Regions from separate parts of the Homo sapiens genome. Here regions 2, 3 and 4 are each linked to region 1. The links are contacts of gene promoters, found by promoter capture Hi-C in blood cells and fetal thymus (Javierre and others, 2016). All regions are on one chromosome and are shown on one strand. The core of a region is centred on a gene start or on the middle of the fragment in contact, and the rest is flanking DNA. Distances in the headings are between cores, read along the strand shown.

Region 1 (3,657 bases), core at 772-3,271:
GTCTTTTAGATTATAGGCTGTTTTTCTTTATCATTCATGTTTTATAAATGACTAGGAGAGACCACAGACCAGGCCTGCTCCCCTTTTAATTACTGATCTTTATTATAGATTGTCTCTTATTATCCCGTACTTAGACCAGACTCCTACATCTTCAGTGTAAAATGTTAAATATACCTTCCACCTAAAAAAGACCACCTCAGCTGGTCAGATTATAACTTTATGCATAAAAAGATGTTAAAATTCTGTTAAACTTCCCTAAAATTTGTCTACATAAATGATCCCAAACATCTACAGTTCAAAATACTGATTTCCATTCTTTAAAATCTGTGCTTCCCAGGCAGCCTGTCCTCAAACTTTATACACTTAAATAAACTCTCTTTAAGCTAAATTCTGACCTGTTTGGTTATTTCAGGTTGACAGCCTTCTAACAAGATAAAACATGCTCTATGTAGTATATTATCCTGCCAAAAAAAGTGCATAGCCTGAATGCACAGTGTGGCTCCCTGATTAGATCCTGGGGTTTAAAAAAGGGCTGTAGGGCAGAGCTTCACACCTGTAGTCCCAGCACTGTAGGAGGCCACAGTGGGTGGATCGCTTGAGCCCAGGAGTTCGAGACCAGCTTGGGGAACATAGTGAGACCCCCCCCCCCACCCATCTCTACCAAAAAAAAAATAGCGTGTGGTGGTGTGCTCTTGTAGTCCCAGCTACTCAGGAGGGTGAGGGAAGAGAATCGCTTGAGCCCAGCAGTTCAAGGCTGCAGTGAGCTGTGATCGTGCCACTACACTCCAGCCTGTGTGACAGAGACCCCCGTCTTAACAAAGCAAAACAAAACAACAATAACAAAAGGGCTGTAAAGGGCATTATTGGGACAACCGCGGGAAACTGGAGATGGAAAATAGATAACAGCATTGAACTGATGTGGTCATTGTATTTTGGTAATATAGGAGGTTCTTGTTCTTAAGGAGTTGGATACCGAAGTATTTGGGAGGGGGGTATCACGGTATCTGCAGCTAATGGTGGGGGCTGAGTGGGGAGGAAAAAAGAAAAATACACATATATAAACACAGAGGGAGAGAAATGAAACGTGGCCAGCTGCTCACCCCTGCTGAACCTAGGAATCTGCGTGCTCACTTTACGTTCAACTTGTTTGTATGCTGAACATTTTTCAAAACAAAAAGGTGCAGGGAAAAAAGAAAACATGATGTCTCTCTGAGGGCCACAGAGACGTGGCAACCAGATCGCTCTGACAGTAAGGCCTGTTACCCGAGCTGTTGGGTGTGGGGTCAGCAGACACCTTCAGCTGCCCCCTCCTCCAGGGCTGCCTCGCCCCAGGTCATGCCCTCGCAACGTGGCCCGTGCGTCCGGCTCGCACTGTGGCTCAGCTTCTCCCTTTGCCCAGTCCTGCTGCTCCCTCCCCTCCCGTCCTCGCACAGGTGTGCCCCCCTAATAAGCAGGCCACCCAGACTCCATCTCGGGTCACTTTGGCGGTCTCCCAGCGGCGAGCCTTCCCTGACACCCATGTGTTTACCTGATCGTTTATGGAGGATCCTCTTCGCCCCGGGACGTGAGCCCTAGGACCAAGAACTGTGTCTGTTTTGCTCCTTGCGGTGCACCGGCGCCTGGACATACGCTCCATCAATGTGCGTCGCGAGCCGCTGAAGCCCCATTTGCCGAGGGGGAAACTGAGGCACGATGATCCAGGTGATGAGCCTGGCGCGTTCTCCGCGCGGCCCACGTGGCCACTCCGCCACGCCCCACCCCCAGCTGGTCAGCTGGGATCCCGAAGAAGCGCCAGAGGCTGCGCCCACCCACTAGGGCCCGGGCGGGCCGGTGGGGCGGCAGGGCGGGGCCTGGGCCGTCAATCTCGAGTCCGGCCGCTGCCGAATGGCGGGCGCGGTGGGCCCGGAGTCAGCTCAGGCTCCTCGACCAATCACGGGGCGCGGAGCCGCCGGGCGTGCAGGGTCCGCCTCCGATTGGCAGGCAATCGCTGACATCATCCGGGGGCGGGCGCCCCTGCCCTGCGGGTGACTCCGACCCCTGGCTAGAGGGTAGGCGGCGTGGAGCAGCGCGCGCAAGCGAGGCCAGGGGAAGGTGGGCGCAGGTGAGGGGCCGAGGTGTGCGCAGGTGAGTGGCCAAGGTGTGCGCAGGTGAGGCCAGGGGAAGGTGTGCGCAGTGGGGGGCGCTTGCCCAGGTGAGCAGGTGCCCACTCACAGGGCGAGGGTGGGGTCAGGGGTAGGGGGCGTGCGCGCAGGTGGGGAGAGGGTCCAGCTCACAGGCGAGGGGCCGCTGGGGCTCCGGGGAGGCGGGGCGGAGGCGTGGATAGTCCCCCTCCCCCACGAGCCGGCGTCTGAGGGATGCTCTGTCCCCGCGCTGTCTGGAGCTTCCCCGGGCGAAGGCTGCCTGGCTCCGGGGTCGGCTCCTGGCCCCATGCCGCGCTCCGCGGCGGCTCTTTCTCCTGCCCCACCTGTTGTTCGCCTCCCTCTTTGTCAGTGCTGAGCCAGGCACAGCAGCTTTGCGATGGGACTGGCTTGTCCGCCGTCCTCCCTGACATGCGGCTGTTGAAGCCCTGAGCACTGGACCTTCTGCCTCTTGCTTGACTCCTACTGTGGGCCTTGAGCTTCTGCCCTCTCCTGAAATGTCAGCTGCCTGCGGTCTTATTCATTTTTGTGTTCCTTGCAGGACTTTAGCCGGTTGAGAAGGATCAAGCAGGCATTTGGAGCACAGGTGTCTAGAAACTTTTAAGGGGCCGGTTCAAGAAGGAAAAGTTCCCTTCTGCTGTGAAACTATTTGGCAAGAGGCTGGAGGTAAGTGTATCTCAGTGCCCTGGATCGTGGGCGCAGGCTATGGCTTCACAGCGTTGAAAGTACAGACAGACTGGTCCACCAGCTCTCGAGTGCCAACGACTGTCTGTGCCTCTTATGAGTAAAATACAACATACCAGGGCACCTCCCCTTTGTCTGTTCCCAGCCGTCTATTGGGAAGGATGTTACTTAGATGTTTATTGCACAACTCAATGCTTGTGGCTAAAGAGCTGACTCCTGGGTGAATGAACTCTGTAATAAGCTAAAAGTACTTCTTTGGTCTTGTTTTAATCCCTTTTGACAACATTCTCCCAGTGGCTTTTTCACACTTTAGTTCTGAGGTTACACATCCCCTGACCCTTTTGCAATTTCCCAGTGTTTTACATAATTGATAATGTTGGTACCAGGCATTGTCCCCTTGTAGCTTATCCATGGCTTGGGGCAAGACGAATGCCACCCCATTCTACTTAGCCTTCCTGTAAGGCAAGTGTGCATGTGGGTGGTCTGGATTAACACCAGTCAGTGTGGGAACTAGGGATCGGAGGGAGTGGGGGCACTGAGCTGGTAAGTTTTGGCTGGGAAGAAACTAAGCTTGTATCTTACCTTGATGAGAGCCTGGGGGAGAGGAACTGTCTAAAGCAAGCCAGCTTGTCCAGGTGGCTGTGATCTTGAGATCAGACTCACTAGCGTGTCAGCTTTTCTCAGAAGTAGTTTTCTTTCATCCACTTTGATTTTACAGATATAAGGAGAGTGACTGGCACTCGCCAGGCTCTGTATTCAGTATTTGGGGCCGGAGAGAGACACGGTCTCTTCCTATCAAGAACTCTTCGTCTTGTTTTGTGCATCATAGGAACTG
Region 2 (3,929 bases), core at 600-3,099, 1.0 Mb after region 1:
GATTACAGGTGCCAGTCCCGTACCTGGCCCTGAGTTATTTTTGACAACGTATCTGTCCCATGGTGCTGACCTGAGCTGAGCGCTAACCTGGCCCCGATGCCAGCTGGGACTGAGCAGCAGCAGCATCCCTTGCTGGACTCGCCCTGCTAGGACAGCTCTCCAACTTGCCGGCTGAGAGGTGAGAGCAAGGCTCCATAAGCCTCCTTGGTTCCATGAGAGCACTGGCCTAAGGGGGGGGCACGTGGCACTGAGCCAGGCACAAGGTGAGGATGACAAGTCCCGACCCTTGAAAAGCCCAGCCCGGAGGGGAGTCTCCCTGGGAAGGACAGCAGGATGAGGCAAGGACAGCTCATGAGGGAAGCAGAGGCTGCTGTGGAGACCGCACAGGAGAGAGGGAAGTGAGGGCTCTTCCAGGGAGCTCCTGGCACTCGGGAAGGCCTGAGCTGCAGGTTCTAGGGTGAGCGAGATTCGCGCTGAAAAAAGGTGCAGGCCGAGCAGCAGCAGAGAAGCCACAGCAGCTTCCCTACCAGGCTCTCCTGACACGTTGCCTTTCTTTTCCCCAATATGTAATTTTCCCAACCCACAGCAGGGAGCCCCATTTTTAGAATAAATGTCTCTCTGCGCTAACTCCCCACAAGCCCCCTAAGCACAGGGCTCGCCTCAGTCTGCAGTGGGAAAGGCTCCTATCTACTTGCTTCGTTCACTGCACTGAACACATGGATTCCGTCTGTCCGTGTGCACACGCTTCGCTCGCTGCACTGAACACGGATTCCGTCTGTCCGTGTGCACACGCTTCGCTCGCTGCACTGAACACATGGATTCCGTCTGTCCGTGTGCACACGCTTCGCTCGCTGCACTGAACACATGGATTCCGTCTGTCCGTGTGCACACGCTTCGCTCGCTGCACTGAACACATGGATTCCGTCTGTCCGTGTGCACACGCTTCGCTCGCTGCACTGAACACATGGATTCCGTCTGTCCGTGTGCACTTGCTTCGCTCGCTGCACTGAACTCAGGGGTCCGTCTGCCTGTTTACACTCCTAAAAGCTACCAGACTTTTTTTAGACTCCAAAGATGATGATTCTGCACACATTGCTCTTCTCGGTGTCAGGGCATCTCTGTGGTAGTGACGCAGCAACATCCATGTCTCTTTCCTGCAGAAGGTCCCTCACCCCACTCCTCCCCCAGGCTATTTATGGTCGTGGTTTGGGGTGCCCTGCCGGCCCACCACATCATCTACTCTGCGGGGGACAGAGCAAGGTGCAGCTCACTGTGACACGGCAACATCATCCCGTGCCCAGCTCAAATGTTCATCTGGCTGGTGCATGAGGTGGGAGAGGGGTATGGAATTACCGGCTGGAATCCGACACTGGCTAACACACTTCTTTCCACAGAGTAAAGGCAAGCATCTGTCAGGTCAGAACAAGCTTATGTTGCTCAGACTCAAAAGTTCACCTCCAGGATGTCTGTTTTACTGAAGAAACATGCAAACACACTGCGATCTCTTCCATCTTCTCTCCAGGAAGGAAAAGGTAGCCCTCCTGAGCTAACGTGGCTCCCTTTCTTAAGGTAGAGAGGACCTAAAGCACGGGTGCAGCCGGATGCATTTGGCCAACGTCCTCAATCAACGTCTGCGTGGCAGTCTGCATCCCATCAATGACAGCTGCTGGGAGGCTTGCCCAGACCTCTCGAATAGAGTGAGCACTGTCCCCAGCCTGGTACGCGCCGAATTTACACGAGGGAGACTGCTCTGATGGTCACTGAACGCATGAAGGATGTTAGCCAGGCCTTTGGCTGGATTCCGTGTGTGCTGTGAACCATGGGGACCTACAGATTTGACTTTGGTCTTCGGACTGGCATGACTTAGGCTACAGACTGGAACCACAGGCATTGACAGTGATGACACCTAGAGCCAGGATGCTTCTGGACTTCTGTCCTATCACAAGGCTGCCTCTGAGGGCCAATCTCCCTCTCTGGGCCTCCCCACTAACACCCGTGCTCCAGCACCTCTGAGGATTCCTAAAGAGCTTTGAAGAAAGCTAGAGTACTTCATGAGTAAGTCCAATCAACAGGGGTCTACTCCGGGCAAATCGCAACCTCAGCAGATGGACTCAAAACTGCTGATCTAAGGAAAGACTGAGGGACGACTCTGCCACCCAGTCTAGTGGTCCAAGCACACCAGGAGCCTGGCATAGGCAGCCGCGGGCCACTTACCTTATCCATTCGGTCTTGTTCCACACCAAATTTCCCTCCATAGCCATGGGAAGCTTTTGGTCCTGTTTCAAGTTCCTTCTCCTTAAGGGTCTGATGCTCTTGAAAGACATTCTCCCTCAGCTTGTGTATGCTTGATGGAAGAGATGAAAATAGGAACAGATCAATAAAACAGACGTGCAGCTTTGCCTCCTGGTATGATAAATAAGAACAGGTGACATTATCTTTGTAAATTTGTAAATCTGCTTATCTGATGTTCACCGATTCTCTCCCTGCACTGTGCCTTCCTGACTATTCTGCCGGCTGGTACACCCACTTCGGCAGTCTGCAGTATCAGACGCATGCTCTGTGGGAGACAGAACACGAATCTGAAGGCAGACACTGGGATCATCCCAAATCCCCGCTAAAGATGGCTCTACTGAAGCCTGACCTTTATTTCACACGCAGAAAATAGGAAAGCTAGTCTGTAATCATCCAGAGGTAGAGGGGGAAACACGAGGCTATGGTCCCTTCCTCGGCCACTGGCAGAAGTCCAGTGGTGCTGAACATTCAGATGATTCGTCTGTACTTGAAGTACTCCAGCTTTTTTATACATTCAAAGATGAGAGGAAAGCGTTTCAGAATTTAACATCTAAATGCCATTAAAAAATTTTAATACAGCAGATAATGAAACAGATGACAAGGTTTGCTCAAATCTGGTAGGCCAGACACAGCTGTCATTGAGAGACCCCAGAGTGATAAGAAGGCCACTTTGGCATTCGGACTTTCTGCCCAGGAGACACCAGGACGCCACCTTTGACATCTGGACGACAATCCTAGAATTGAAGATGAAATACAAACCAGGCTTGGAAACCGCCCAATACCCTTATGAGCAGGAGAAAGAAAGACACCACTCCTAAAACCTGGGAAGGCCCCAGAGCATGAAGAATGGGCTTATTCCCCATGTGTTCCTCTCTGAATCCTAACCAGCCCAAGGGTTTTGTACTGGAGAGTTGTTTTTTCTCCAAGCCACCCTCCGAGACATGTTTTGAAGCCACAGGGAACAGAAGAGATGAGAAGAGGTATGATGACTCAACGAATTCAGGAGTCTGCTTAACGCCATAGCAAATACCCAAGGCTACAGTGGACTCCCAAGTCAGCCCCATTCCAGTCTCTTGTCCTGGGCAGCCGCACGGCCACCGGAGTTCCGAAGCTGCTTCTGTGGAAGGGAGTGTGCTGAGCAAGCCAGAGAGGGACTAAAACTTGTGTATAAAAAGCCACTGGGGGCCAGGTGCGGCGGCACACACCTGTGATCCCAGCACTTTGGGAGGCTGAGGCAGGAGAATCACCTGAGCCCAGGAGTTCAAGACCAGCCTGAGCAACAAAAGCAAGACCTCATCTTTACAAGAAATAAAAGCACTTAGCTAGCCATTGTGGTGTGCGCCCATGGTTCCAGCTACTCAGGAAGCTGAGGTGAGAGGATCGCTTGAACCCAGGAAGTCAAAGCTGCAGTGAGCTATGATTGCACCACTGCACTCCAGCCTGGGTGACAGAGTGAGACCCTGTCTCAAAATAAATAAATAAATAAATAAATAAATCTTTAACAACAAAATAAAAAGCCATTGTGCAGGCTGTGCCTTCTTTTCTGGAGGAAGGACTAAATCTTTCTCAGCTGAAGGGACCGTGGTCAAGCGGGACAGTCTTCCCGGGATACTGAGGCGGTCACCGGGTCAGTGGTG
Region 3 (3,957 bases), core at 261-2,760, 1.8 Mb after region 1:
TTAATATTTCCTTTCTCCAATTAATTTGTAATTCTTCTTTTTACCACATGAGAAGGCTTTACATCTATGAGAGTCCATTGTCTGGGCCATTTACTTTATTTCACTGGTCTGCCACTTCTTGAACCAACATACCACAATATTTATATTGACACTTTATCTTTTCATATCTGATATGAAAATCATTTTTTTCTAAAACATCTTAGTTATTTTTATTAGTTTATTCATACGGATGAAAAAGTTTAGGATTTTGACACATTTTACCAGATCTCATGGAATTTTCTTTGGTACTGCACTTGTTCAGTTCCCCAATCCTCAATCATGGTAGAGCTGTAGTTTTCCTTATATGGGTCCTGCTCAAATTGTTAGAAATTCTTATTTCTAAGAAATGTATTATGACTATCATAAGGCGATTTTCCCATCACCACCCCTGCTCAGGTTACTACCAATTATTGTTGGAATAACAGAAAGTGTTTTTTTCCCTATTCATCATACACATAGCTACTTGCTGCGATTATGGATTCTGAGAACGTCTTAGGTGACTATTTGGGTTTTCCACGTGGGCCATCATATCTGCAAATAGTAGTATTTCTGCCTTTTTTTTTTTTTTTTTTTTTTTTTGGTATTTCCACTTCTTGCTTCATGTTTTACTGCATTGGCCAGGGCTGGTAGAAAGATGTTCAGTGGTCACGTGAGGTTTTACTACTGACTTTATTAGGAATGCTTCTGGTGTTTCTCATCTGAGTTCCGTTGTCGCTTAGACTTTGAAATCCCTTTTTAAAAATCGTGTTCAGAAAGCACATCTCATGGAAATGACAAATATGAGAACTAAAACCGACAAATTTCTGCCCAAAATCCCACATGCAGAGCCTCCTGGCCTGGAGCCTCCTGAGGCGTCGGTTCTTTGATGACTTCCCATTTCTTTTCCCTTTTTTTTTTTTTTTTTGACGGAGTCTGGCTCTGTCGCCAGTCTGGAGTGCAGTGGTGCGATCTCGGCTCACTGCAACCTCCGCCTCCCAGCTTCCAGTGATTCTCCTGCCTCAGCCTCCCGAGTAGCTGGGATTACAGGCGCCTGCCACCATGCCCGGCTAATTTTTGTATTTTCAGTAAAGACGAGGTTTCACCATGTTGGCCAGGCTGGTCTCGAACTCCCGAACTCAGGTGATCCGCGCGCCTCGGCCTCCCAAAGTGCTGGGATGACAGGCGTGAGCCACCGCGCCAGCTGATGACTTCCCATTTCTTCCTTGGTTCTTTCGGAGCCACTTTGGGAAATTCGGTTCTATCTGCAGTGGTAAAATACAGGTCGGCTCTCCACGCGCGCGGCCAATGGACGCTCCCAGCGCGGACAGACAGGCCCTTTGCTGGAGCTGGGCAGGGCGAAAGGACCCCAGGGCGGGGCTTCAGTCGAGGCCGGCCCCGCCCACCGCTGCAGCCGCGCATGCGCCATGTACAGGCTGCTTTGGGCCCTCCCGCGTGCCGTTCTTACCCGGCCTGCCCCGCGCCGCCGCTTCCGGAAGTGGGTCTCGTCTCCTCCCAAGCGGAGCATTTGTGCCTGAAGCTGCCGGGTCTGCTACGGCACCGCGGGGCTGCAGAAACCCGGGGGCCAAGGGCGGGCTGCTTGCCGCTATGGCTGGCAGTCAGGACATATTCGATGCCATCGTGATGGCGGATGAGAGGTGGGTGGTGAGGCCGGGCCCGCACCCCGCCCTGTCTGGTCGTCTCCCAGCGGCTTCGCCGCCGGCTGCGGCCCAGGGCGGCTGCTGGAGCCTGGCGTCCCTTGGGCGTGCGCATTGGGGAGCGCCTGGTGGCCGTGGACGCAGGGACAAGTGTGGGCCTGATGCTCTGGTCCTCTTCTCCTGGCCCGCTCCGGCGGGGCACGTGCCCAGCTGCTCTTCCAGACCCGCCTTCCCTGTCAGGGCTGCCCCAAACATCTGCTCAGCCTGGTGGTTCCCCTCCTCCGAGGCCGCCTCGTCCTCTGGGAGGACAGACCTTTGCCATCTGGGAGCTGCCTTTTTTTCTGGTTCCTTAATCATAGGACATACGGCAGTATTCATGGATGTGCTGATAGATGTACCCGACCACACCCCTTTTCCCTCCAGAGCCCCTGGGGAGCCCCTCGTGCTGCGACAGTGGGGGAGCTGTGAGTTGCCTCCTGGCTGACTTCCAGTGCCCGGCCCAGAGGACGCGTCCATAGATGTTAGTTAAGAAAGCGGCCGAACATTTAGCAGTCAGGCGCTGACGTTTATTTAGCTCGCGCTGTGAGTCAGACACTGAGCTAAACGTTCCACCCTGGTTATCTACTTCAGCCCTACTTAGTAAGTGGATCCTATTATTCTTCGGAATTTACAGACTAGGAGGCACAGTCACTTTCCAGGGTCACACAACTATTAAGTGGGGAGCTATGCACCCTGCTTCATGGGGCGCTGCAGCCCACTCCTTGCATGTTTGGTGACTGCAGGTTAAGATAGTGGCAGTTCCACTGTTGGGCCTCAGGGTCAGTGCTACTCCGGGTACCAGTCGGAGAACATTTTGTGGTGATCTGATGCCATTTCTCTCTGTTGCCCTACCCATGTGATGTCAAACCCTGTGTATGTTGCAGTTTTTTGGAAGCGGTTGACTTGGGCTAGTGCTACTTGAACACTCACAGAACTTTGGCCCCCTAACTCTGGCTGCAAACCAGACTTATCTAGGAGACTTTGAAAAGTAGATTCCGGGCCAGATGCGGTGGCTGACGCCTGTAATCCCAGCACTTTGGGAGGCCGAGGCGGGCGGATCACGAGGTCAGGAGATCCAGACCATCCTAGCTAACATGGTGAAACCCCGTCTCTACTAAAAATACAAAAAATTAGCCGGATGTGGTGGTGGGCGCCTGTAGTCTCAGCTACTTGGGAGGCTGAGGCAGGAGAGCGTGAACCCGGGAAGCAGAGCTTGCAGTGAGCCGAGATCGCACCACTGCACTCCAGCCTGGGCGACAAAGCGAGACTCCATCTCAAGAAAAGAAAAGTGGATTGCAGGCCAGGTGCGGTGGCCCTCACTTGTAATCCCAACACTTGGAGCGGCCAAAGCTGGAGGATCGCTTGAGCCCAGGAGTTTGAGGCTATAGTGAGCTGTGATCATACCACTGCACTCCAGGCAGGGCAACAGAGACCCTGTCTCAAAAAAAAAAAAAAAAAAAAGGAAGAAAGAAAAGTAGATTCCAGGGCCTTGCTCCAGACGTACTGAATCTCTGGGGGTGAGGCTTTTGAGTTAATATCTTTGAATTTTCCTTGTGTGTTTCTAGTACCCTATCAGGTTTGGGAATCCCTAATTTAGCCCTTTGTTGTAGATGAAGAAACTGGGCTACAAGAGGTACAGTGACTTCCAGAGGCAAATAGGAAGTGGTAGATCTGGGACTGGAATCTGTGTCTTCTGACTTGAATTTTAGGCTTTTCCTCCTTTACTCTGGTTTGTCTTACTGGGTCCGGGTAATACAAGAGAGAGAAGTTTTTCTGGAGAAAGTATTCTTTCTCCTGTTGATTTGATGAAGCATGCTTCTTCTTCACAGGTTTCATGGGGAAGGGTATCGGGAAGGCTATGAAGAAGGCAGTAGTTTGGGTGTGATGGAGGGAAGGCAGCATGGCACGCTGCATGGAGCCAAAATCGGGTCTGAGGTAAGTGGGAACCCCCATCTGGAGATGAAGCCTCTTCATTTACAATTTATAATTTATTTCGATATTCAGTGTGATGGAGTAAGAATTGTCAGGCCTTTTAAAATCACAGTGCCGGATGGGCGCGGTGACTCACACCTGTAATCCCAGCACTTTGGGAGTCTGAGGTGGGTGGATCGCCTTGAGGTCAGGAGTTGGAGACCAGCCTGACCAACATGGTGAAACCCTGTCTCTACTAAAAATACTGAATTAGCTGGGCATGGTGGTGCATGCCTGTAATCCCAGCCACTTGGGAGGCTGAGGTATGAGACTC
Region 4 (3,979 bases), core at 1-2,500, 1.2 Mb after region 1:
CCAAAGGACTACCCTCACAAAAAAGGGCAAGCCCTGGGGTAGTCTGTTTGCAAAGCTGTACTTGTTTTTGCTGAAAACAAGTGTGCTTCTGTTACCTATTTTTTTTACTTCCCAGTGGGGTGGGGAGGGTGGGGGGGTAGGGGGGGAGAAAGTCAAAACACATGTCACCCAATCATTTTTCAGGAAAAGCACAGAAGGAGCATACAACCAGCAAAACTGACAAGTACAAAATCCATCAGGCATCTTGCAGGAATGTGTGCAGTCAGCTCCCGGGAAGAACTGACGGCTCCCTGAATTCTTGGGCTGGATTTGGTGAGCACTAAAAGGAACCGGATTCGTTAAACGCTGGTAGAAGTGTTTTCCAATGGCTGCAACGGTTGGTCAACCTAACTTACGTAAGTTTACAACCGAAAAAAAAAATCCACAATGGAAATATAGCAGGTCGATACAGCCGGGGGCGGCTAGGAAAGAGGGAAAAGTGAAAGGTGAGATTACGAGAGTCTATTAAGTGTCTGGGATATAAAGACAGCGCCAGGGAAAGGGGAAGTCGCTTCTGAGCCTTTCGGGCAGTACTGGGGGCGCGGTGGACCCCTGAGAGGGGGATGCCCCAGACGGCGCACCTGATGGGGATGGTGACCTCCAGCCTGCTCGAGCCGCACTCCTCCCCTCCTGTATCAGGTGCGGCGGAAGCCCCGAACCCCGGGGGGTGAGGACCGTTGACAACGGAGCCCGCTCGGGCCAGGGCTTTCAGCGGCCACAGGTCCCCGCCCCTCGCCCCAGCGCCCGGGTCACGGGGCGCGGGGCTCGGGGAGGGGCAGCGCGCAGTCCCCGGAGCCGTCCCTTGGGGCGCGGGTGTCCCGCCGGAGCTCTCCCAGCGCGACCCGGCGCCGCGGCCTCGCCCCCACCCGTCCCGGAGCGCACCCTTCCCCGCGGAGACATCTAATCGGCTGCGTGGCCGCCGCGGAGACCGGGACGCGCCGGTGACGCCTGGGCCCCGAGCCTGCCTCAGTGTCCCGCTCCCTTACCTTGCTCGCCGGCGGGAGCGGGCGAGGAGGCTCCGCGGCGGCTCGCGGGCGGCTGCTCGCTCCGGGAGAGCTTGGGAGCCGACGAAAGCAGCCCGCGGCCGGCGTCCGCCTGCCCGCCCCACGCCGCGGCCCCGGGGCCCGCCGCCCCAGTCACTAAGGCCGGCCCGCGGCCGGACACTGGCGGAGCGGAGGAGGAGCGGGCCCGGCTGCGCGGCGCCGGCGTCTACGTGCCCGACGTCGAGCGCGTCGGCGCGAGCGTCAGCACCGCCCCGGGGGCGGGGCCCGAGGAGCACCTTGGCCCGAGTACGCAAGCGCTGTCTCCTCAGGAGGGGGCGGGAGGCGGCCCCGGGGCACTGATTGGCTGAGCGAGACGGGAGCCACGCCCCCCAGGCCCCGCCCGGGTCGCGGGGGAGGGGGCGGTCTCCGGGATGAGCCACAGGTGGGCGCTCAGGTGCTCGCCGGGTCAGCGTCTTCCTCCGGGCGTCCCCAGTTTCCCCCCACGGCTGCAGGGACGCCGGAGGCCTTTGCTGAGTGTCTACCGCGCCTCGAGTTCTGAGCTGGACGCGTCCGGCACGTCAGGTCCCTCCCGAGCTGGAGGCTCTGGATTCGCACCTTGCAGAAGAGCGAACCGAGGCTTCAGTCACCACCGAGGACCCAGACCCCGCCCGCCGCGGCGCCCCTACGGTCTCCCTGGGCCTGATCTGGGTTCAGAAGGACGGAGTTCCCGCCAGGACCCACTTACGGAGCGCTGCCTGCCGCACCTGGGGACGTCCCGGCGCAGCGTCCAGAGTGCAGGCTTTGCCGCTGTGGCTTTCACTCTGCAGCGTGGGCCCGGGCGACTCGGGAAACCCGCCTGGGCTTCAGCGCCTCCGATGTAGGATGGGAAAATGATGCAGACCTACCTGCGAGGCTGCTTTAAGACATGAATCAGATGTGAAGAGCGACTAGTTGAGAGCCTGACGGGCAGCACTGCGCGAGTCTTGGTCATTTCATCTTTTCCGCAAGTTTTTTTTTTTTTCCAGACGTTGTTTCACTCTTGTCACCCAGGCTGGAGTGCAATGGCGCCATCTCGGCTCACTGCAACCTCTGCCTCCCGGGTTCAAGTGATTCTCCTGCCTCAACCTCCCGTGTAGCTGGGATTACAGGCGCACGCCACCAAGTCCAGATAATTTTGTATTTTTAGTAGAGACGGGATTTCTACATGTTGGTCGAGCTGGTCTCGAACTCCTGACCTCAGGTGGTCTGCCCGCCTCAGCCTCCCAAAGTGTTGGGATTACAGGCGTGAGCCACTGCGCCCGGCCTCAGCAAGAATTTTTAAACATCTACTATGGGCCAAGTCTTGTGCTAGATGTTGCAGATACGGAGATGAATAGAGACACCTCTAATTAATTAAAGCGGATGCCCTCCCCACTCCTCCCAGGATTTGACTCGGAGCACAAACTCTTCACAAACCAAAATGTCAGGACACCATCGCCAGTGTCCACTGGCCACTGCTGTTGGTGTGAGGCAGCCAGGAGCCCCTCAGAACTAGTAAGTCTGAGAAGAGGCTGCACGGGGCCTAGGAGAGGGAGAAATGAGCCCGTCCAAGGTGAATTCCTTGATTCTCCATTGTGAGTGCACCAAGAACAAGCACTCCCTCCGACTGACTCTCGCCTACCAGGATCTGGAACACCTTCCATTAATTTATTCGTTCATTCAATAAATATTTATTGACTGACTACACATAGATATGAATATGTACTTTTTGCCCCTAGTTTCTTGCTATTTTAAAAGTGTAAAAATGGCCAGGTGAGGCCGGGTGCGGTGGCTCAAGCCTGTAATCCCAGCACTTTGGGAGACCCAGGTGGGCAGATCACTTGAGGTCAGGAGTTCAAAACCAGCCTGGCCAACATGGTGAAACCCTATCCCTACTAAAAATACAAAAATTAGCCGGGTGTGGTGGCGGGCATCTGTAATCCCAGCTACTCAGGAGGCTGAGGTGGAAGAATAGCTTGAACCTGGGAGGTGGAGGTTGCAATGAGGAGATCATGCCACTGCGCTCCAGGCTGGGAGACAAAGCGAGGCTCTGTCTCAGAAAAAAAAAAAAAAAAAAAACATTGGCCAGGTGCAGTGGCTCACGTCTGTAATCCCAGCACGCTGGGGGGCCAACGTGGGAGGATTGCTTGAGCCTGGGCAATATATCGAGACCCATGTCTATACAAAAAATTAAAAATTAGTCCAGCAAGGTGGGCCACACCTGTAGTCCCAGGTACTTGGGGGATTGAGGTGGGAGGATCGCTTGAGCCTGAGAGGTCGAGGCTGCAGTGAGCTGTGATTGTGCCACTGCATTCCAGCCTGGGTGCCAAAGCGAGACTCTGTCTCAAAAATAATAAAATTGTAAAGTTGATCGCTTAGATGAGGTGTTCTGCAAGTACCCTGTACCTCTCCACACCCCAGCAATTCTGCACAACTCCCAAGTTCCCCTGAACCACTGTCTGAAACCAGCAAATTTCCAGCTCTCCTTAGGGGTACCTGCTTAATGCAGCCAGCTTATGTTTGCACCATGCTCATAAAGTGTCTGTTTTCTAAGAAATCGGCTCAAGGCCGGGCGCAGTGGCTCACGCCTGTAATCCCAGCACTCTGGGAGGCCGAGGTAGGCGGATCACGAGTTCAGGAGATCGAGACCATCCTGGCTAACACAGTGAAACCCTGTCTCTACTAAAAATACAAAAAATTAGCCGGGCGTGGTGGCAGGCGCCTGTAGTCCCAGCTACTCGGGAGGCTGAGGCAGGAGAATGGCGTGAACCCGGGAGACGGAGCTTGCAGCGAGCCGAGATCGCGCCACTGCACTCCAGCCTGGGCAACAAAGCGAGACTCCATCTCAAAAAAAAAAAAAAAAAGAAAAATCGGCTCAAGATCAAAATTTAGTTCGGCAGGGTAGAATGTTCATTCATTTCATGAATATTTGTGCAGCA

The links. The method cuts DNA at HindIII sites, captures the fragments that hold promoters and counts their contacts. A CHiCAGO score of 5 or more calls a contact.
Region 2: a contact is called between a fragment that was not itself captured here and the fragment with the promoter of DHCR7 in region 1, in 1 of 17 cell types (endothelial precursors). The highest score is 7.2, in endothelial precursors.
Region 3: the fragment with the promoter of LTO1 here is called in contact with the fragment with the promoter of DHCR7 in region 1 in 1 of 17 cell types (total CD8 T cells); the score reaches 7.0 in total CD8 T cells.
Region 4: a contact is called between the fragment with the promoter of PPFIA1 here and the fragment with the promoter of DHCR7 in region 1, in 1 of 17 cell types (neutrophils). The highest score is 5.3, in neutrophils.

The regions. Positions count from the first base shown.
Region 1 is chr11:71,446,757-71,450,413 of GRCh38, reverse strand. It overlaps DHCR7 (7-dehydrocholesterol reductase), which reads left to right and starts at 2,021. Exons shown (of 9, transcript NM_001360.3): 1 at 2,021-2,124; 2 at 2,680-2,804. It overlaps DHCR7-DT (DHCR7 divergent transcript), which reads right to left and starts at 1,886. Exons shown (of 2, transcript NR_186309.1): 1 at 1,529-1,886. RefSeq lists an enhancer at 1,488-1,989 and a silencer at 1,715-2,354. The HindIII fragment of the contact is 9,377 bases long and covers 1-3,394 here.
Region 2 is chr11:70,408,246-70,412,174 of GRCh38, reverse strand. CTTN (cortactin) reads right to left here. Exons shown (of 18, transcript NM_005231.4): 5 at 2,215-2,344. Among named protein-coding and RNA genes, the nearest start is that of CTTN, 12 kb to the right of the region's middle. The HindIII fragment of the contact is 840 bases long and covers 1,430-2,269 here.
Region 3 is chr11:69,672,906-69,676,862 of GRCh38, reverse strand. It overlaps LTO1 (LTO1 maturation factor of ABCE1), which reads left to right and starts at 1,510. Exons shown (of 5, transcript NM_153451.3): 1 at 1,510-1,673; 2 at 3,542-3,647. The coding sequence starts at 1,624. RefSeq lists enhancers at 1,149-1,348, 1,218-1,718 and a silencer at 1,839-1,928. The HindIII fragment of the contact is 5,284 bases long and covers 1-3,957 here.
Region 4 is chr11:70,267,961-70,271,939 of GRCh38, reverse strand. PPFIA1 (PPFI scaffold protein A1) reads right to left here and starts at 1,250. Exons shown (of 28, transcript NM_003626.5): 1 at 1,026-1,250. RefSeq lists silencers at 646-1,075, 1,116-1,665. The HindIII fragment of the contact is 13,908 bases long and covers 1-3,979 here.